7 separate regions of the Homo sapiens genome follow, and all the other regions are linked to region 6. Evidence: promoter capture Hi-C in 16 types of primary human blood cells and fetal thymus (Javierre and others, 2016). All regions are on one chromosome and are shown on one strand. Each heading gives the region's core, a stretch centred on a gene start or on the middle of the fragment in contact. The rest is flanking DNA. Distances are from core to core; before and after follow the strand shown. Region 1 overlaps RBM28 (RNA binding motif protein 28). Region 2 overlaps GCC1 (GRIP and coiled-coil domain containing 1). Region 3 overlaps SSBP1 (single stranded DNA binding protein 1). Region 4 holds the start of SND1 (staphylococcal nuclease and tudor domain containing 1). Region 5 holds the start of MRPS33 (mitochondrial ribosomal protein S33). Region 6 holds the start of STMP1 (short transmembrane mitochondrial protein 1). Region 7 overlaps AGK (acylglycerol kinase).

What was found. The method cuts DNA at HindIII sites, captures the fragments that hold promoters and counts their contacts. A CHiCAGO score of 5 or more calls a contact.
Region 1: a contact is called between a fragment that was not itself captured here and the fragment with the promoter of STMP1 in region 6, in 1 of 17 cell types (total B cells). The highest score is 5.8, in total B cells.
Region 2: a fragment that was not itself captured here is called in contact with the fragment with the promoter of STMP1 in region 6 in 2 of 17 cell types (naive CD4 T cells and fetal thymus); the score reaches 8.4 in naive CD4 T cells.
Region 3: a fragment that was not itself captured here is called in contact with the fragment with the promoter of STMP1 in region 6 in 4 of 17 cell types (total CD4 T cells, non-activated CD4 T cells, total B cells and 1 more); the score reaches 11.4 in total CD4 T cells.
Region 4: the fragment with the promoter of SND1 here is called in contact with the fragment with the promoter of STMP1 in region 6 in 2 of 17 cell types (total CD4 T cells and non-activated CD4 T cells); the score reaches 7.2 in total CD4 T cells.
Region 5: a fragment that was not itself captured here is called in contact with the fragment with the promoter of STMP1 in region 6 in 1 of 17 cell types (fetal thymus); the score reaches 13.7 in fetal thymus.
Region 7: a contact is called between a fragment that was not itself captured here and the fragment with the promoter of STMP1 in region 6, in 3 of 17 cell types (naive CD4 T cells, total CD8 T cells and total B cells). The highest score is 9.3, in naive CD4 T cells.

The regions. Positions count from the first base shown.
Region 1 is chr7:128,334,959-128,337,658 of GRCh38, forward strand. RBM28 (RNA binding motif protein 28) reads right to left here. Exons shown (of 19, transcript NM_018077.3): 6 at 2,173-2,244; 7 at 889-1,084; 8 at 585-721. Among named protein-coding and RNA genes, the nearest start is that of RBM28, 7.6 kb to the right of the region's middle. The HindIII fragment of the contact is 3,765 bases long and covers 1-2,700 here.
Region 2 is chr7:127,582,247-127,584,946 of GRCh38, forward strand. It overlaps GCC1 (GRIP and coiled-coil domain containing 1), which reads right to left. Exons shown (of 2, transcript NM_024523.6): 1 at 1,905-2,700; 2 at 1-1,063. All of the region lies in intron 1 of LOC105375490 (a long non-coding RNA gene), which reads right to left. Among named protein-coding and RNA genes, the nearest start is that of GCC1, 2.0 kb to the right of the region's middle. RefSeq lists enhancers at 780-1,979, 1,698-2,698, 2,699-2,700. The HindIII fragment of the contact is 4,362 bases long and covers 1-2,700 here.
Region 3 is chr7:141,745,016-141,747,715 of GRCh38, forward strand. It overlaps SSBP1 (single stranded DNA binding protein 1), which reads left to right. Exons shown (of 7, transcript NM_003143.3): 6 at 481-569. Among named protein-coding and RNA genes, the nearest start is that of SSBP1, 8.0 kb to the left of the region's middle. RefSeq lists a silencer at 2,395-2,537. The HindIII fragment of the contact is 1,653 bases long and covers 625-2,277 here.
Region 4 is chr7:127,650,848-127,653,547 of GRCh38, forward strand. SND1 (staphylococcal nuclease and tudor domain containing 1) reads left to right here and starts at 1,347. Exons shown (of 24, transcript NM_014390.4): 1 at 1,347-1,604. The coding sequence starts at 1,527. It overlaps SND1-DT (SND1 divergent transcript), which reads right to left and starts at 985. Exons shown (of 2, transcript NR_186577.1): 1 at 826-985. RefSeq lists a silencer at 896-1,145 and enhancers at 943-1,561, 1,386-1,565. The HindIII fragment of the contact is 9,151 bases long and covers 1-2,700 here.
Region 5 is chr7:141,012,534-141,015,233 of GRCh38, forward strand. MRPS33 (mitochondrial ribosomal protein S33) reads right to left here and starts at 2,419. Exons shown (of 3, transcript NM_053035.3): 1 at 2,378-2,419. RefSeq lists enhancers at 858-927, 2,070-2,700, 2,178-2,227 and a silencer at 2,292-2,600. The HindIII fragment of the contact is 2,107 bases long and covers 378-2,484 here.
Region 6 is chr7:135,661,084-135,663,783 of GRCh38, forward strand. It overlaps STMP1 (short transmembrane mitochondrial protein 1), which reads left to right and starts at 1,431. Exons shown (of 3, transcript NM_001130929.2): 1 at 1,431-1,511. The coding sequence starts at 1,497. RefSeq lists a silencer at 1,306-1,525 and enhancers at 2,165-2,689, 2,690-2,700. The HindIII fragment of the contact is 1,162 bases long and covers 656-1,817 here.
Region 7 is chr7:141,553,360-141,556,059 of GRCh38, forward strand. AGK (acylglycerol kinase) reads left to right here. Exons shown (of 16, transcript NM_018238.4): 2 at 2,094-2,208. The coding sequence starts at 2,108. Among named protein-coding and RNA genes, the nearest start is that of AGK, 3.3 kb to the left of the region's middle. The HindIII fragment of the contact is 5,219 bases long and covers 1-2,700 here.

The DNA.
Region 1 (2,700 bases), core at 152-2,651, 7.3 Mb before region 6:
GAAGGCAGCAGTCTGCAAGCTAGGAAGAGAGCTGCACCCAAAATGAATCAGCTGGCACCTGGGACTTCTAGCCTCTAGAGCTGTGAGAAAATAAGTTTCTGCTGTTTAAGCCACCCAGTTTATGGTATTTTGTTATGTCAGTCCAAACTGACTAAACAGTTCTTTATCCCCATCTCAACTCCAAGGAGTTGTTTAAAATCTAGCTTGATGTTGAGATGGTTATATCATCTGTTTCATCTATATTATCTGTATAAGATGCTGTTTACCTGGTTATTCTATCAAGTTGGACAATCCAGAGAGAGGTAGAACCTCAGCATTAAGCTAGGTTTTCAATTCCCTAAGAATCTTAACCCTCAAACACCACTCCAAAACTCACTTAAAAAACAAAACAAACAAAAAGGAAACAACAAAAAAACCTTTGGAAGAAAGGAGTATAAAGGTTTCCTTTTCAGCATTTAAACATAAATTTGATAGAACACCTTAGAGTCCTATTTAAAAAGAGATCTAAGCAGAACTGATGCTCATTTCCGTAACTTCAGTAACTTTTTTAAAGTCTAAAGACATTTATGAAAATCCAAACAAACCTTTATCCTCTTGCTCCTCAGTGCTGGTATCACTCTGAGCCAGTTCCTCTCCATCATCAATACTATCGCTTTCCTCTAGGTCACTGTCCTCCTCAGAATGATCACTGCTTTTTGCAGGGGCTGGTCTCTTGACTGCTCTGCAATGGCACAGATCAGAACTAAGGAGGTGGGCTGACAGAGGGCCTATTCAATTTCATTACACATGTCAATTCTGCAATGATGCAGGCAGAAAAAGGAGAATTTTTCCTCTCGGAGACAATCTTGAATCTTCCTCTGCTGTCTCAGAACAGGATGAGCTGCTTACCTCTTCTGAATTTGCACAGGCTTGGTCACCTTTGATTCTATATTCTCTTCCTCTTCATCTTCATCATCAAAAACCCCATCTTCTTCATCATCATCATCGTCATCATCATCGTTTTCTTCCTCTTCCATATCCTCTTCCTCTCTGCCCTTCTTTTTAACTGATTCCTGATGTTTAGATTCATGGCTCTTTTCCTCACCTATGGAGGGAGGTAAAGAAAGGAGGAATTCATTTAATATCCAAAACAATGTTATTTTAACAAAAGTAACCAATACTCCAAGTTCTTGGTTTCATCGGTTTTACAGAATTTCGTATATTTTTCTTACTGCATATAACAGGAGAAAGTATAAAGAAAAGAAAAAGCAAAAACAGAAATAAACAAAACTCTCAACACCCAGATTCCTTTAGAGTTTGTCCCATTCATCAGTCTGAAGGTTCATCTGGCCCAGACTGAAAGAAGTGGCAACTGAGCCTCTCCAAGCAGTCTACCATTCGTACATCATAGCCAGCAAAATGCTCACTAGGGGGCAAAGCCAAGCCATGAACTTTAATCTCAGTGCGTTCTATTCTCTGAGACCCTGGTGGCTTACCAGCCAATTGTTTTCTAAATAAACCTCAAGTTTTAAGTTTCTCTATTCTTAATGTTCCATCACTCCTATTATGCACAGCCTGGAAACAACAGCAAGTAAAGGGGACAGTGAACTCAGGCTCACTCACAGCCACTCCCAGGAAGGGGCTTAGACTCAAAAGAGCCTAGGTTTTGGGACCAGAGCACCAAATGGTACAATATGAATTGACAAACAGACCTGGACTCACTTCTGAGCCAGCAGGAATTCAGAGTTTTCCCTGAAAGCCCAGTCTCATTCTTTTGGTTAATCTTCCACAATAGTCTTACTCTGATAAGCAGGTTCTCTTACACTTTTTTTTTGAGACGAAGTCTCGTTTTGTTGCCCAGGCTGGAGTGCAGTGGGGTGATCTCGGCTCACTGCAACCTCTGCCTCCCAGGTTCAAGAACCTGCCTCAGCCTCCCAAGCAGGTGGGATGACAGGCGCCCACCACCAAGCCCAGCTAATTTTTGTATTTTTAGTAGAGATGGGGTTTTGCATGTTGGCCAGGCTGGTCTCAAACTCCTGACTGCAAGCAATCCACCCAAAGTGCTGGAATTACAGGCAAGAGCCACTGCACCCAGCCTTTTTCTTACACTTTTATCATGAACACAGGAGTTGTTTCAATACTCTCACCCAGGTTATACAACGCCCCTACTCACCCAACACTACCACATCTTACCTATAGCAGAAACAGACTGTGTATCTTTATATTTATCCTTTGCCACGGCCCAATCCACAGCCACTGTCCGGCCTGTCAAGCAGAAAAGTGGCATCAGAAAGGCTCTCCTTTTAAAAACCCTACCTCTGTAAATGACCCCTAGTCATCACAGACAATAATGGAACCAGTGGAGACAAAGAAACTGCCAATTCAGGGAATGCTGGTCTTAAAATAAAGCTCCTAGTCACTGCCTACTCCTTTTAACCCTTAACCTTTTTATCAATGAACAGAAATTTTGCCTTTCTACATAGCCACCACACCTGGGATAAGATGGAGTAAAAAAATAAAGAATTAGAACTATGTTTCCAGTTAGACTATCAGGAATCAAAACAGGCATTCTGGAATCATCTGCACCCTACCTGGAAGCTAGGACATCTCTACGGCAATAACTTCTTTTTTTTTTTTTTGAGACACAGTCTCGCTCTGTCGCCCAGGCTGGAGTGCAGTGGTGCCATCTCAGTTCACTGCAACCTCCGCCTCCAGGTTCAA
Region 2 (2,700 bases), core at 132-2,631, 8.1 Mb before region 6:
CCTCCTCACGATGCCGTTCGCCCTCCTCCAGCAGCCGATCCTGCAGCTGATGCACCTCGACCTCCAGCCTGTGCTTCTGCTTCCTCAGTGATGTGATCTCCACCTCCTTGCGGGCCAGTTGCTCAGCGTACAGAAAGAAAGTGGGCTCATTGGCCGCTGCAAGTTGTAATGCTTGGGTCAGGCTATCAGAGGATGATGTGTCAGCTGGGTCCCCAGGACCGCCACCACCCACAGGACTTCTGCGTCCTGGCAGCCCAGAGGCCAAGGCCACAGAACGCAGTTGCTCCAGTTCCAAGTCCTTCTCGGTGAGCACAGCTAGGGCACGATCCCGCTGCTTGTGCAGCTCCTCCTCCAGTTTCAGTGTGCGGTCCCTGAAGTCCAGCTGGCACCGCTCCAGCTCCTGCCGGTGGAGCTGCTGCAGCCGGGCCAGCTCCTGCTTCCAGTCATCAGCCTCCTGCTGGTGTTGGTGCTCCAGCTCCTCGCAGGAGAGCCGCAGGGAAATATACTTCTCCTTCAGCTCTGCAAGCTGTTCCTGGGCTGCCTCCAGCTCCTTTCCCAGGTTACCATCTTTGGTATTCTTGCTTTTGAGGACAACCTGGGCTCTCATCTTGTACCTCTCAAACTCTTCCTTCAGCTGTTTCAGCTCCTGTTGGTAATAGAGTGCAGTAGCCTTCTCCCCATCAGCAGCCTCCGAGCTGGGCATTATCTCCAGGTCACAGAGCTTCTCCACATCCAGGGTCACCTGGCTTTTCCTGGCCGCAACCTGCAGCAGCCTCTTCAGCTTCTCCATCTTATCTTTCAGGACATTGACATCCAGACTGGACTCCTCTCCATGGCTGTCTAAAGGGGACCTGCTGGAGGCTGCTAGAGCCAGTGTCTTGTTCTCCAGGTCCAGCTGCAGAATGCGCTCCTTCAGCTTCTGAATGGCCAGCTGGTCCTTCTGCTTGGCTTTCTCGTAGGTGCCTAGCAGCTCAGACACCTCGGATATTTGATTCTCCAGGGCTGCCACCCTCTGTTCTTCTACCTGAGATTGCTGACGGAGTTGATCCTCTGCAAGAGCTGTCTGCAAAACAAGGGAACAGACAAAAATGCATCCACAAAAGCCCCACAGCAAACTCTGAGAAAGCAGGAGAGGGGAGCAAAAGGGTCACAGGTTTGGGATGGCCTGGCAAGAATGCTAACTAGGGATTTTTCGGTTGATTCAGGAGCTAACAAAAGTTCCTATTACCTGCTTGGATTCTGCAAGACACATATTATACTGAACAATATGAAGCACCTTGGTACATCTGCTATTGTTCTGCTTTCCACCTAACCACATATAATGTGTGTTACTGTTGTTTCTCAGGTGCTTCCTCAAATCCTATTAAGAAATCATACAGCATTCTTTTCCTTATCCAATATTCCTGGAAGTTCAAAACTGCGCTGGATCTCCCTCTCCACATTGAAAGGAGGCACCCTTTCAATACCTGTTCTGGAAAATAGCACTTCTCCAGAACAGGCACATCTTGAGTAAAGGCAATGACAAGAGGTTACTTCTGAGAAAATCCCCTTTGCCTTCGGCCACTCTTCCTAGAGGCACATACCAACAGAAGACACGCTACCTTTTACTATACAGCTGCCACTATACTGCTTCATAGAGCACAGCTGGTAAGATGCCAATGCCCAGAAGTGCAGAGCTGTCTGGCTTCAACCCAGCCTACACTGAGAAGCTCCACATCCTCCTGGAAGCACATATGTCAACACCGCATAGAACAGGACTTCCCAGGTTCACTAGTGGAACTTCTCAGGTGGCATCAAAAATGACAGTATAGACACTTAGCTCTAACTAGCAAAGGAGGAAAAAAACCCTAATATTTCTCACTTCAGGTCAATGGCTGATGTTTGAAAGAGATATGGATAATTACCTTTCTCATTTCCTGCTGTAACTGAGCCTGGAAATGGCTCTTAAGGCGGGCAGCCTCTTCCTGAAGTTCTTGCAGCCGGGGATCTGGCTGATTCTTCTCATCTCGAATGGCCTGCAGTTCACTTTTCAGCTCCTCCACCTCACGGGTCAGCTGCTTGGTCTGCAGTTCAAATCCTTCCATCTGTTCAGCTGCATATGCTCGTCCTGCCAAGGCTTCTCGGGTCTCTTCTAACCTAAGCTCCAAGTCCTGGCGCTGGGTCCTCTCCTCCTGCAGCAGCTTCTGGAGCTCACGCAGCATCAAGGCATGGTCACTCTGCTCTTGGGCCCGATCATGCTGCTGCGTGATAAGCCGGGCTTTGGTTTCTGCTATTTGCTCCTGCAGCCCCTTCAATTCTCCCTCCAGGCGGGCCCTCTCCTCCTCCGCCTTGTTACTGGCATCCTCTAAGTCCTGTTTCATCTTTTTCTTGTCAGCCAAGTAAGAAGCCTCCATGCGGGACTTCTCCTGAGTGACTGTAGCCAAAGAACTGGTCAAAGTAGCCAACTGAGTCTTCAGCTGGTGCAGTCTTTTGTCCACCTCCCCACCTGCAAATGGCCCATCCCCACTGCTACTGCTAACGCCACTCTCGGACCAACTGGCCTCTTCGGACTTTGGAGGTGGTGGTCCACGGGCCGGTCTGTCATCTTCTACCCCAAACTCACCCTTGGTGCTGGTGAGACTGGCCGCAGTATCCAAGCTAGTGGCGGTCCCAGTGCTATCCTCGCTGTGAGTGGAGCACCGGTCATCCACAGAGTCAGGA
Region 3 (2,700 bases), core at 201-2,700, 6.1 Mb after region 6:
AAATAGTCTTAGTAATTAACTCAGGGTAATATTATACTAAACTAACTACAAATCCATATTTTGAATTTTAATCATCTAAGTTTCTAAGGTCATAGAAAATAATTGATAAATAAGTGAAAATCAAGTCTGTTAGGGACTCCAAAATCAAAGGTCAAGGAAAATGATACATTGGAAATTATTCCTAGAGATTTAAATGTTGCCACTAAATTTCCCTTTGAACTGTTTTGTTTTATTTTTTAACTTCCGTAAGAGAAATAGCTGACAGATGAAAACATTGTCTGTTTTACCTAGATGTTACCAAGTCTGTTTGGACACTCTGTTTCAGTACTCCTAATCCTGAACCTTGAGAAGTGGTAGCAAAAATTAGCTTATATATGATTATATATTTCATCCTTGTCATATACTCAGTACCACCCTGACCTGACTCTTATAAAGCATATTAAGATCTCAACTAAAAACTGTACATTTTATTTATATCAGGTCTCGAATTTATTTGGAAGGGAAAATAGACTATGGTGAATACATGGATAAAAATAATGTGAGGCGACAAGCAACAACAATCATAGCTGGTAAGAAGCTTGTGAAAATAGCTGTTTTTTTCTTTTTCTCCTTTTCTTTTTTAAAAGCTTGGCTACACTGTAACTAACTAGGGTTAAGAGTACCAGTACTTATGAGTTAAGGCAACTCACTAGAAGATGTCCATAACTCTTATTTCTCTACTTGCTAAGAGTTTGTACATTTATCCCTTCCTTTAAAAAATTATTTTTATACTTACAGTTTTAGTCACAAGTAACTTTTGAATAAAGCCTAAAACTGAATTATCCATCCCAGTACTTATTGTTGAGAATTACAAAAACTCTGAATGTATTGTCTTTTGGAAGGATCTAGCCCTAACCAGGAAGAAGCGTATGCCAAGATAAGAATTACACTAATGTGAGTGTGCAGATTTATTCGGAACCTCTTTGGTACTTAGTATGTGAAATTTCTATTTGAAATTAAGATTTTTTTAATTTTATTTTTTTTGAGCCAGAATCTCACTCTGTCACCCAGGCTGGAGTGCAATGGCACAATCTCGGCTCATTGCAACCTCTGTCTCCTGGATTCAAGTGATTCTCCTGCCTCAGCCTCCTGAGTAGCTAGGATTATAGGTGCGTGCCACACCACCTGGCTAATTTTTGTAATTTTCGTAGAGGCGGGGTTTCACCATGTTGGTCAGGCTGGTCTTGAACTCCTGACCTCAGGTGATCCATCCACCTCGGCCTCCCAAAGTTGTGAGATTACAGGCATGAGCCACTGTGCCCAGCCAAGAAGTTTTTAATTTTCTCTTTTTTTGTTTTTGTTTTGAGACAGGGTCTCCCTCTGTCAACCAGGCTGGAGTGCAATGGTGTGATCACAGCTTACTGCAGCCTCTACCTCCCCAGGCTCAGGTGATCTTCCCACCTCAGCCTTCTCCCAAGTAGCTGGGACAACAGGTGTACACCATCATGCCTGGCTAATTTGTCAATTTTTTTGTAGAGATGAGGTTTCACCATGTTGCCCAGGCTGGTCTCAAACTGCTGGGCTCAAATGATCCTCCCACCTTAGCCTCCCCAAATACTGGAATTACAGGCATGAGCCATTATGCCCGGCCTAATATTCTCTTTAAACAAAATACAGTACAACATAGAAAAGATGTACACGTAAAGGTTAAAGAAGATTAAGAAGATATCCCTTAGGAAAGAGTTTTTAAACTTTTGAAAATGCTATAAGAATTTTGAAAATAATATACCCCTCTGGATGTCTGCAAGCGACATTAAGAAATTTTTTTCAATACAAAATTGTGTTATTTTTAAATGTATCAATGGAATCTAAATAGCATAGCAATGTGATACCTACTATCCTGTAAAAAAATACCAGTTCAGCATTTGGAAATTTTCCATTATTCTTTTTTCTTTGAACTTGTTTTACTGTTTTTATTTTCCCCTCAGAAGTGTATCTTAATAGTATATGGTATAGTTAAGAACTTTTTATTACCCTGTTTGTAACAAAAATGCATGCATAAAAGAAACTTTAAAATATTTAAAAGAATTCTATGACAAATTCTTCTCAATTGACTTATCATTAAAGTTGTTTTTAGTACCTAATTGATCAAAACAATTTTAATGTATTTAAATTATATTGGAAATATGTCTTTAAATGAGATAGATGGTGCTTTTTTCACTTCTTGAGTAAATTGCTAAAATTAGACATTGTGAATTTTGTGCTTTTGTTTGCTTTTATGGACATAAATACTAAGAAAGCTTTTTAAAATAAATACATGGCAATAAACTAAATTTTACTATATTAATGTTTCTGTGTTTATGAACTTCTGAGATATGCCCAAATTAGATTTTTTTTTTTTTTTTTTTTTTTTGAGACAGCGTCTCACTCTGTTGCCCCGGCTAGAGTACAGTGACACGATCCTGGCTCACTGCAACCTTCGCCTCCCGGGTTCAAGCGATTCTCCTGCCTCAGCCTCCTGAGTAGCTGGGACTACAGGCACGCGCCACCACGCCCAGCTAATTTTTGTATTTGTAGTAGAGATGGGGTTTCACCATATTGGCCAGGCTGGTCTCGAACTCCTGACCTCGTGATCTGCCCACTTCAGCCTCCCAAAGTGCTGGGATTACAGGCGTGAGCCACCGTGCCCGGCTAGATAATATTTTTTAAAAATTGATTTTT
Region 4 (2,700 bases), core at 97-2,596, 8.0 Mb before region 6:
GCCATGCACTGTGGTTAATGCATGTAATACCAGCACTTTAGGAGGCCGAGGTAGGAGTATAGCTTGAGCCCAGGAGACCAGCCTGGGCAACATAGTGAAATCTCAGCTCTACAAAAAAAAAATTAGCTGGGCGTGGTAGCGCGGACCCGTGGTACCAGCTCCAGCTACACCGGAGACTGAGGCAGGAGGATCGCTTGAGCCTGGGAGTGTCAAGGCTGCAGTGAGCCGTGATCGTGCCCCCGCACTCCAGCCTGAGCGACAGAGCGAGACTTTGTCTCAAAAAAGCCACAAAACCAAAGAAACAAAAAGAACTGCAAGGGAAGTACTGTCTTCAGTGTAGAGCCAAGTTTTACGATTAAATGACATAACACATGCAAGGTCCTTGGTTCCACATAGTGGGCACTCAACGAATATTAGTTCTCGCTAAACAGTCACTTAAATATTTGTAGGCCTTGGCTTTCCCGTTCCTTCCCCGACCTTTTTACTGGGGCTAGGGAAGGTATCCGGTGGCTGGAGGCGCTTCACACTGGGTCGGGTGAGAGCGTGAAGCGAGCCTTTTCCCTAACGTCACGGGAGCAGCTGGGAAGAGACCGAAGAACGAGGGTCACTCTCCCCTGTATACGTGGCATGTCCTTCCTCTGAGACATTTATTCCTCCCACCAACAAACATTAATGGAACGCCTCACAAGTGCTAGACCCCAGCGACACAAACAAGGGCGAGGCACACTCTCTGACTACAAAAAGGGCGCGCGGCCGCGTGGCAGGTCAAAGCCCACATCGGTAGGAGGTTCCACAAAGCTCTGATTTTCCAAGTTCTCTCCATACTTTTAGCCAAGGTAAAATGTCGGAAGTCGAGTGGAGCGGGTACGGAGATTCCTCCAGGACTCTGCCTGCGTGGCTCCACCCTCCCAGGCCGCATTCCCGGGTACAGCGGCGCCCACCTAGGTGGGTATACAAGTGTGCGCCCCTGAGGCCAGCGGGGAAGGACGTCATGGGCGAGGTCAGGCGGGAGGGCGCGGCTGGCTCCGCCCCTGGGGCTCCCATGGCCCCCCGCGCCCCGCGGCCAGATGCTGACGTGTCCTTTCCTTCCCACTACACCTCCCGACATTACCTACTCCGGCTGCCCCGGAAGTCCCGCCCCATATTTAGCCCATCCTTGCAAATCAACTCTTTCAGCGCTTCCTGGAACTCACCACCGTTTTGGGGACCAAGAGGCGGGGCTCCGCGAGCAGGGTGCCTATTGGCCTGAGGGCCGGCGGGCTCTGGGCGCTAATTGGGCGGAGGGCGGTGGCGCTCTGGCACGCTTGCGCGGCGAGTAGAACGTGTGGCGGCGGCGGAGATCGCGTCTCTTTCGCTCCGTGTCCCGCTGCTGCTCCTGTGAGCGCCCGGCGAGTCCGTCCCGTCCACCGTCCGCAGCTGGTAGCCAGCCTGCCCCTCGCCTCGACTCCCTTTCACCAACACCGACACCCACATTGACACCTCCAGTCCGGCCAGCCGCTCCACTCGTTGCCTTTGCATCTCCACACATGGCGTCCTCCGCGCAGAGCGGCGGCTCCTCCGGGGGACCCGCGGTCCCCACCGTGCAGCGGGGCATCATCAAGATGGTGAGAACGGGCCCCGGACACCGACCCCTCTGCCTGCCTTCGGGCGGGAGTCAGGCATTGACTCCACCTTCCGCCAGCCTGCTCCATGTCCCAGATCCCCTTTCCTCTGCCCCCTTCCTCACTTTTCGTCGATTCTCCGAATCCTCTCACTAGACGGAAGCAGACACGGAGTCCCCTTGTTCCTTGCCTCCCGGACACCTTGACATCAGGGGTCACAGTGATTTCCGAGGTTGCGGCATTCGGATCTCCTGTCTGTTTACCAGGACAGATCGATTACTGATTGATTAACAGAGACAATTCGTTGATATCTGTCCTCCCATCCCCCGTCTTTCTGTTCATTTTGACATATGCTGAGTAGTTAGTAGTTTTTCGAGATCCTGACATCGGCTCTTCTCTACTAGTACTTGGCCATCATGAAACTTTTCTGTTCCCACAAACGCTGTTACTTGACTCCCAAGTTTTCTCACTCTGTGGCCCTCTTTTCCTCTCTTTCCCTCCACCTCTTGTGTCGACCTGAAAGCTCCTGATCTTTGTGTACTTTTGACTTCTAAAAGGTTAGGCCGGCAAGAATCTTAGTAATCATCATTGTTCTCCCGTCCCTTAAAGATAAGGAGATAGGCTTGAAGAAGGCAAGTGACTTGCTTAAGGTCACATGGTGGTTTGGGTTGGAGCCATAGCAAGAGCCCAAGTGTTCGGATTCCTGGTCTAGTGCTCATAGCACTATAGATTCTGCCTGATTTTATATACCCTCAACTTTTTGAAAATTCTTCAATTTTGAATTTGAACCTGCAAAGTTTATTTTTACAATTTACTCCTAGCTCCATGATAATTTGATAATATAAATTCAGTTTATCACTTGCCCCCAGTTGTCCTCCCCAAAACCCTTCCAAATCTTGGAACCTGACATTTCTTGGTTTTACCAATTTTCTGGTTTATGATGACTGTAAACTTCTAGATGTCGTTTCATACTGCAGTTCTGACATTTGTATCTGCAACAGCAAATATCTTTTGTGATACTTTCTCCCAAGGCTCCACAAGTTTTGCTGTTGTAGAAAGTTTTGAAAAATTCTATTTTAGGCCTGGTGCGGTGGCTCAT
Region 5 (2,700 bases), core at 181-2,680, 5.4 Mb after region 6:
GTCACCTAGTTTCTTTGCATGCTTTTTCTCTTCCTTTGCCCTTTAAAGTTACCTTTTTCCAAACATTAGATTAAAAAACAATAGTTGCTTCATCAACTTTGCTTTGTTTGCTTAATTACCATTGTGGCATCAGAATATATTTCTGCTGTAATTGCACAGTATTTCCACAGTTAGTTATCTGTAAGCTGGTATGGGAACTATCAGTTTGTTACAGTGTTTTCAGGAAAATCTGTTCTGAATTCCAAGTCCCTTTATTTGTCAATGAAGAGGCAACAGGGATTCCTGAGGCCTAGGTTTGACTACTGGCTCTGTCACTTAATCCTTGGGTTATTGTGAACAGTTACTCATCTTCTCTGAGTCTCCTTTTCTGAAAACAAAGCTTGCATGACTAGTGCGAAAATGAGTAACAGTGGCACTGAGTAGTAAATGGTAACTTACAAAAAAGAACGAGCCCAGATCTGTAAGTTTGGTTTTCATATATTCTACATAGACACATTTGTTTATTCCTTGTTCTTAATCATGTTTAAGAAAAAAAAAAAAAGAGAGAGAGACAGACAGATAGATACTCCATATAGTAAAAACTTTGTGCCTCCCTGGAATGATGACCTCATTTACAAAGACTGACAGCCAGAGAAACATAGGGAGAGGACCAGCACCTTGATAACTTGACAAGATAGCCAGGAGGAGGAAGGGACTCAGTAGGACAGTAGTCACTGAAGCCATCACAGGATGCTGCTGTTATGTCCATGCCCATTTTGGAATGTGGCAAATTACTGGGATACATAACTTGTAAGTAAAAAGGTCACACTAGAATAGGCTGGAACATGGTTATATCATAAAATCCAAGTCCTAAAGTTTTATGACAGAGAAAGGGAATAAGCCTTTTCAAACCTGAATCCCTTACTAGAAACAAAGGCCCACTTGCTAAACAGGAGGAAACTGAAAGTGGTTTTAACAATTACCAATGACACTGCTTTGTTGTTTCCTTCCACAGTGCACAGACACATGTCTCTCACGAAGAATAACACGGGAGCTTTTCTTACAACGTGCATGTCAATTACATTTTGATTCACATGAAACCATTCTCGGGGAGTACAAGTCACTTTAAGTGTTACCTTTCTTTAAATGTGAACTAAAGAAAACTGTACTCTCATGAAAAAAGTTAACTGGAGCTGAAAATGCTAAGCAAAAACAAATTACTCAAATGTGCTGAGCAAAACAAATTAAGCCCACATGAGAAGAAAATTCCCATATTTTTACTTTGGCATAACAGGGCAAACTTCTTTGATCTTTTTGATAGGTCTGATGCATTTAAAAGATTATTTCAATAAGTGGCTTTGTATTAGGTTTGCCTTTTCTCTTTGAAAGGTAAAGATGAAGTGCAAGAGTTCTTAACCGGGATGTGCTTCAGCGTTTTGAAAACAGTGGAAGTGTACATCTGTATGCCGATATGTGTATGTATGTGTGTGTGTAAATTGTTCTGGGAGAGAGCTTTCTCCAGTTTCCCAAAAACCATTGGTTAGCAGAACGCACCAGCTGCAGAATAAAAAAGCTGGTTGGAATCTCGCCTCTGCCTTTTAATGGCCACGTCGTTTTTGTAATGGTGCTTATTCTCTGCCAGGTTCTCTCATCGACTACACGAGGACAGTCATACTATCTGCGATGTGAAGCTAATATGCAAAATTCACGGCACAGTGCCCACCCTAATAACCATCAGGATCCAAGGAATTCACATACAGTGTACACACGTTGTCATAGAAACAATCTAAACATAAAAACAATCTCAACAGAATGCTTAAAAACAAAAAAACCCGGTACCGATTATTTTACGGAGTCATAGAGGCATCAACGGCACTGAAAATGTATTAGCTGCATTCAGTTCATCAAGAACAATCTTCAACTCCCTCCACCTGACTCGATCATGCCTGACTGTGATGGAAACTGTAGTATTGTCAAGTCAACCGATGTTTGACTCGGGAGCGCATTTCGCAAATATTTTTCTTAAATATCACCTTACCGTATTTTTCTTAAGGTGGTTACAAAATTAATCTGCAGCCCACCACCCAAAGCTACAGTGCCGAAGGCCGTGTGATGAGCAGAGAAACTGAGCCTTCTACTGTTAACCAATATGGAAGAGAGTAATTGCGCCTGAGAGGAAATTACGGCAGCGGAAACGCGGGTATTCTACGTTTAAGAAATCCCCCAACTGAGGCAGAAAAAGGCCAAGTTATTTGTGTGATGCACGTGAACCGCCCGAGCTGGTCACTAATGAAGTGGATTCGCCCTATTCCTGGCGACTCTACAAGGTTGGAGACCCCCGTAGACTTCGCAGCCATCGCCCCTTGCTGCAGACCCCCAAAGTCACCGACAGCCTTACCTAGACCTGACCTTCCTCACCCACGCGCCCTCGTCCCGGAAGGCCCGCCCTCTACCCGGCTCCAAGCTCGCGCAGGCAACTATTACGGGGAGCAGTAGAGAAACGGAAGCTTGGCAGCTAGAGCGGAGCCCTAGTGAACGACCCGGAGTTACTGGCTCCCCCTCCTGAGGCCTCCGAGGTGTACCTGGCGCCTGCGCAGTAAGGCTAGCGCCGCCGCCTGTGCGGAGGACCCGGGGAGGTGGTGGGCTGGGGAGAGTTAGAAAGGTCTGGCTCTCCTGGAAGGGCATGCACGGTTCGGTAGTATGTTTTGGTGGGAATGGCTA
Region 6 (2,700 bases), core at 181-2,680:
GTGCAATAATTTTTGAAGACAATAAGGGATGGTGTATCTTGTTTCTAATAAGATGAACTTTTTTTGTCTTTGCTTTATCTTATTAGGGAGTTATATATCTTATTAGGGAGTTAGTGTTTAAAACATACTGTGTGGTATAATAGGCTTAAAATAAATTCTTTAAAAGAGAAAGAGAGAAAAAAACACACACATACACAGACCGGAAGACTGACAGAACAGACTCTTTGTGGCGATGATACAAATTGTCAACAGGACCTATGGCCATCCCAGGCAAGAAACCCAGCTAGGCCAGTGAAACTGAGAGCCAACCTGATGAGGCCTGCCAAATGCAACTTCTCTCACTTGTTTTTAGTCACCTGCTTTTAGTGGATTAAAAAACCCACATAGCTAAAGTCACAGAGCTAAACAATATATATCTAAGCTCCCACTATCTTCCTTATGGATAACATCTCTGACATCTGGGTTGCTTGATAAAGGTTTCTTGTTTTTCAGGAAGTTGGGGTCAGTTCTTGTACAGTTTAAACCACCAACCTCTCAACTGGGCCTGCATGAAAGCCCGATGGGTGTCCTTCTGACATTAGAGGGCCAAAACCTCCACACTCAGATCATGCTAAGGATGTCATTTTGTGACCATGTATCCTATAAAGAGCCATGAAGCTTGACTACCTCGCGCAGATAACCCATTGCCAAACTTTTCCTTACCTTCAACCGCCTTTCCCCACACCTCAGACCACCCTGCTCCTCTATCCCATAAATATCCCTAAAACCCATCTTTGGGGAGGCAGATTTGAGATCTGTTCTCCCGTCTCCTCGGCTGGCTGCCTGGTGAATAAACCTTTTCTCTGCTACAAAACTCATCATCTCAGTGACTGGCGTGCGGCACACGGCAGCATGGGCCCCATACGGTACCCAGCCTCTACCTTGATTACACAACACCTGATTACACAACGCTGATTACACAGCACACCTGCGGAGCTTTGAGAGCTACAAGCCTCCTTTCCTCCCCGCAAAGTCCAGCTGGGCCCAAGTAGAGGATGCTGCAAAAGCCCCCACGATTCAGCTGCGAACCTAGGGATGGGACCCGCTGCTCATGCCGTCCTTCTAGGTTAGAGAGCCCTAAACTGGGCTGTGTATCAGAATAGTCCGCGTGCTGAGAATAATATAGATTCCTGGGCCTCGGCCCAGGTTTACAGAGGCGGGATGCTCAAGGATGCCCAGCCAGGCTCGGGACTTGCTCTTCGCAAGTCCTGTCGCGCGCTCGCTGCCCCGCCGGTTCAGGCGGTGAGGCCAACGCGCTCCGCCAGGGGGAACCTGGGCGCTGCGACACTGCAAGTCGTTTCCGGGCGCGGGCTGAGTGGGAGGAGCGGGGCGGGGCGTGGCGTGACCCGGAAGTCGACGAGGGGTTCCGCCCCCCCCGCGCATGGGGAGGTAGGCTCGGACCGGCCCGCGGAGCTGCTGCAGTCCTTCGCGCCCTCCTCGCCCTCCCCACCGACATCATGCTCCAGTTCCTGGTGAGTGGAGCTGCCGAAGAGCGGGGCCCGCTGCCTGGGGCGTGCCTCGGACCCCATTTCCCCCTTGAGGATTGCCGACCCCGCCGACCCGGCCTGGGCGTGGGTCCAGCGGTCCCTTCGTCCCCCGCGCCTGGTCGTCGCCTCGCAGGGCGGCCGTTTTCTTCCTGCCTCCCCAGAAAATCCCTTTGCCAATATTTTTCTGCAGCCATCCAAGTCCCTAAAACTTTGAGGTGTCAGAGAGTGTGCGTTTCCAGAGCTTCTTATTGTGTGCCGCGCCCCGCGCTCATTGTGCAATCTTTGTATTAAAGCTTGTGTGGTCCTTGATGACTTTTCGTAGTCCGCCCCCCTTTCTTTCTGCGCTCCTGTTCCATTACATGGTCGCCGGCCGGTCCCTGCTGTGGAGCCCTGCTAGTTGGCTTTTCTGAGGAGGTAGGAAGGCCAGGAATAAACCGTAAATTAGCCACCTCACGAAGTCCGAGAGGCTAAGTCCTCATCAGACCTTTCAGAGTTGGAGGAATGAGTCAGACACTGGTATACAAGTAATTTTTCCCAAAATGTGTAAGCATGAGTAAGCAGACTATTTCTCTTGGCTCCTTATTTGAGTTAAAAACGAGTTTTCTGGCAAAACTCGGTATATTTCAAAAATTGCTTGGTGAAGGTTCCAGGAGTTGCTCATCAAATTTTCAAGTGAAAGTTTTTCTGCCAAGCTATTGTGCATTCAAAACTTGATGCTTTCAACCTCTATTTTTTTTTATTTTTTATTTTTTTTGAGACGGAGTCTCGCTGTGTCGTCAGGCTGGAGTGCAGTGGCGCAATCTGGGCTCACTGGAACCTCCGCCTCCCGGGTTCAACCGATTCTCCCTCCTCGGCCTCCGGAGTAGCTGGGATTACAGGCGCGCACCAGGATGCTCAGCTAATTTTTGTATTTTTAGTAGAGACGGGTTTCACCAAGTTGGCCAGGCTGGTCTCGAACTCCTGACCTCAAGTGATCAACCCACCTCAGCCTACGAAAGTGCTGGGATTACAGGCGTGAGCCACTGCTCCCGGCTCAAATGCTGTATCTTTTTTTGTTGTTTGTTTTAACGGAGTCCCGCTCTGTCGCCAGGCTGGAGTGCAGTAGTGCGATCTCGGCTCACTGCAGCCTCCGCTTCCTGGGTTTAAGCGATTCTCCTGCCTCAGCCTCCCGAGT
Region 7 (2,700 bases), core at 113-2,612, 5.9 Mb after region 6:
CGTTACTTTAGTGATTTCCTCCTCATTATTCAAGGCTCAGGGAAGACTTCATTGACTGTGCACCACCCCCTCAGCCCTAGACCAGGTTAGGTTCATTCTTGCAGACTCTCACAAAGCCTTGTGCTGACTCCTCGACATTTATCCCACTGTACTGCAATCATAATTGTATAATTGTGTTAGCATTGTGGGTTTGACAGTTGTGAGCACTTGAGAGAACGCATGAGACCCATTCTTCTCTGCCCTCACCCCCAGCACAGAGCCTACCATATAGGTGTTTATTAAAGGGCTCTTGAATGAAGGAGTGATTTAGGGCCAGATGGAGAGGAGTTCAAGAATTAGTTGGGCCTTTGGAATCATGTGTCAGCCTGACGGTGTATGGGATTCACAGGAAGATGGTCTCCCTGGCACTGGCTTCACTGCTGCTTTTGATAAGGATGTTTCTACCCTTGAGAGGAATTTTAACCAATGGGATTTAAAGGGAGTCATAAAAGAACTGGACTTTTAAGTGGAAACAGTTTTTTTTTTCTTGGTCTATATACCTCACTAACAGATAGTCATAAAAAAATTTTGCTTAAATTTTTGTTTATCTAGAAAATAAGTTCATTTTCAAAAACTTAGAAAGTACATTGCAATTTTAAAAATAAACATCACCCACCATTCCACAACCTAGAGGGATCTACTTTAAAATTTCGTTTTTGAGCCAGGTGCAGTGGCTCACGTCTGTAATCCCAGCAATTTGGATGGCCAAGGCGGGAGGATTGCTTGAGGCCAGGAGTTTGAGACCAGCCTGGGCAACATAGTGAGACCTTGTCTCTAACAAAAAAAGGAAAGAAAAAAATTAGCCAAGTGTAGTGGTATGTGCCTGTGGTCCCAGCTACTTGGGAGGCTGAGGCAGGAGATTTGTTTGGGCCCAGAAGTTATAGTGAGCTATGATTGTGCCACTGGACTCCATCCTAGGTGACAGAGTGAGACCCTGTCTAAAAAAAAAAAAAAAAAAATTGTTTTTGTTTAATTGTATTGGTTTTCTTTTTAAATTTATACTCATGTTTGAACATAATTGGTATAATGCCAATTATATATGGCTTTTTATCCTGCTAATTTTACTTAACATTATGTTTTGGGTTTTTTCCCCCATCAGTAAAAATTTTGGGTAAAAAAATATTTAATTGCTATTTAACTTATTCATTGAACAAATATTTCTTAAACAGCTATTGTGTGCCGGATCTTACTTTAGGCATGGGATACAGCAGTGACCAGAATTATGTCCTTACTCTCATGGAGTTTACATTCCAGTAGGATTAGGCTAATAAATGAGCAAATGAATATAAGCATCACCAAATAATAAATGTCATGAAGAATAAAGATATTCTATAGTGTCACTCTGTTTTTTAGTAAAGTCTTCCTAATTTACCTTCTTTAAAGGAGTGTATGAGTGTCTATCATTTTGTTATGTCATCAGTGAATATGATCATTTAAAAATTTATTTTGGTCAATAATGATAGTTCTTTGTAATATGCATGTCTGATTATTCAGGAAGTTGAACATTTTTAGATAGCCATGTACATTGCCTCTTCATTGAGTTTTCTATCCATGTTTTCTGTTTCTTTTCCTATTGAGGACCTGGTATTTTCTTCTATTTTGAACTCGCCCTTCATATTATTATTTTTTGGGACACTTACATTATGATGGATAGACAAATGTATACTCTTAAACAGTGGTACAGTGAGGCTGTAAGGAGTTAGAAAAACCAGAGGAAGCCTGGAATTCCCTTCCTCTCTTTCTGCCCCTCCCTCTTCCTTCTATTGCAATGAAGAAATAGTGATCAGAGAGGGAAGAAGTATAGGTTAGGTGGAAATACGTGAAGGAAGAAAGAAAGGTGGATGGATGTGTGGGTGGATGAGAAGATGAAGATGATGGAAATAGAAGGGAGAAGATGAGCTGAGGCCAGAGGAGAAGTGGTAAGGAGGAAGAGGAGTGAGTGGGAAAAAAAGGAGTGAGAGAGGATAAAAGAATGGAAGACAGAGTAATAGGGACATTACATGAAGACCATGGATAAATTATATTTTTTTCTCTTTCCGCCTCTACTAACCTAGCAAATCTCTAGAAGATGACGGTGTTCTTTAAAACGCTTCGAAATCACTGGAAGAAAACTACAGCTGGGCTCTGCCTGCTGACCTGGGGAGGCCATTGGCTCTATGGAAAACACTGGTAACTATCTGACAGCCCCATCCCACCTTTGCATCTGCAGCAAAACAGCCCCAAAGGGCCTCAGGTTAAAATCTTGCTCAGCTGTGCTTATCCCTATAAAACATGTGGTGTAAAAGAAAAATAAATGCTATTCAAAGCAAAAACAAAGACTTCTTGTAACCAGAGCTGGAACTACATGCATACTTATATCCAGTGGTTAGAGAATAAAGTAGAGACATCAGAAAGGAAGCTATTTTTATTCATTATATTTATAGTGGAAGAGATTAAGACATCTTAGAGAAAGAGAAGTCCTTTCCCAAGTTAGTAGTGTGAACCCCCAAAATCTGAGACAGGTCTTAGTCAATTTAGTAAGTTTATTTTGCCAAAGTTAAGGACGTGCGCCTGCGACACAGCCTCAGGAAGTTCTGATGACACGTGCCCAAGGTGGTCTGAGCGCAGCTTGGTTTTATACATTTTAGGGAGATATGACACATCAATCAATATACGTAAGAT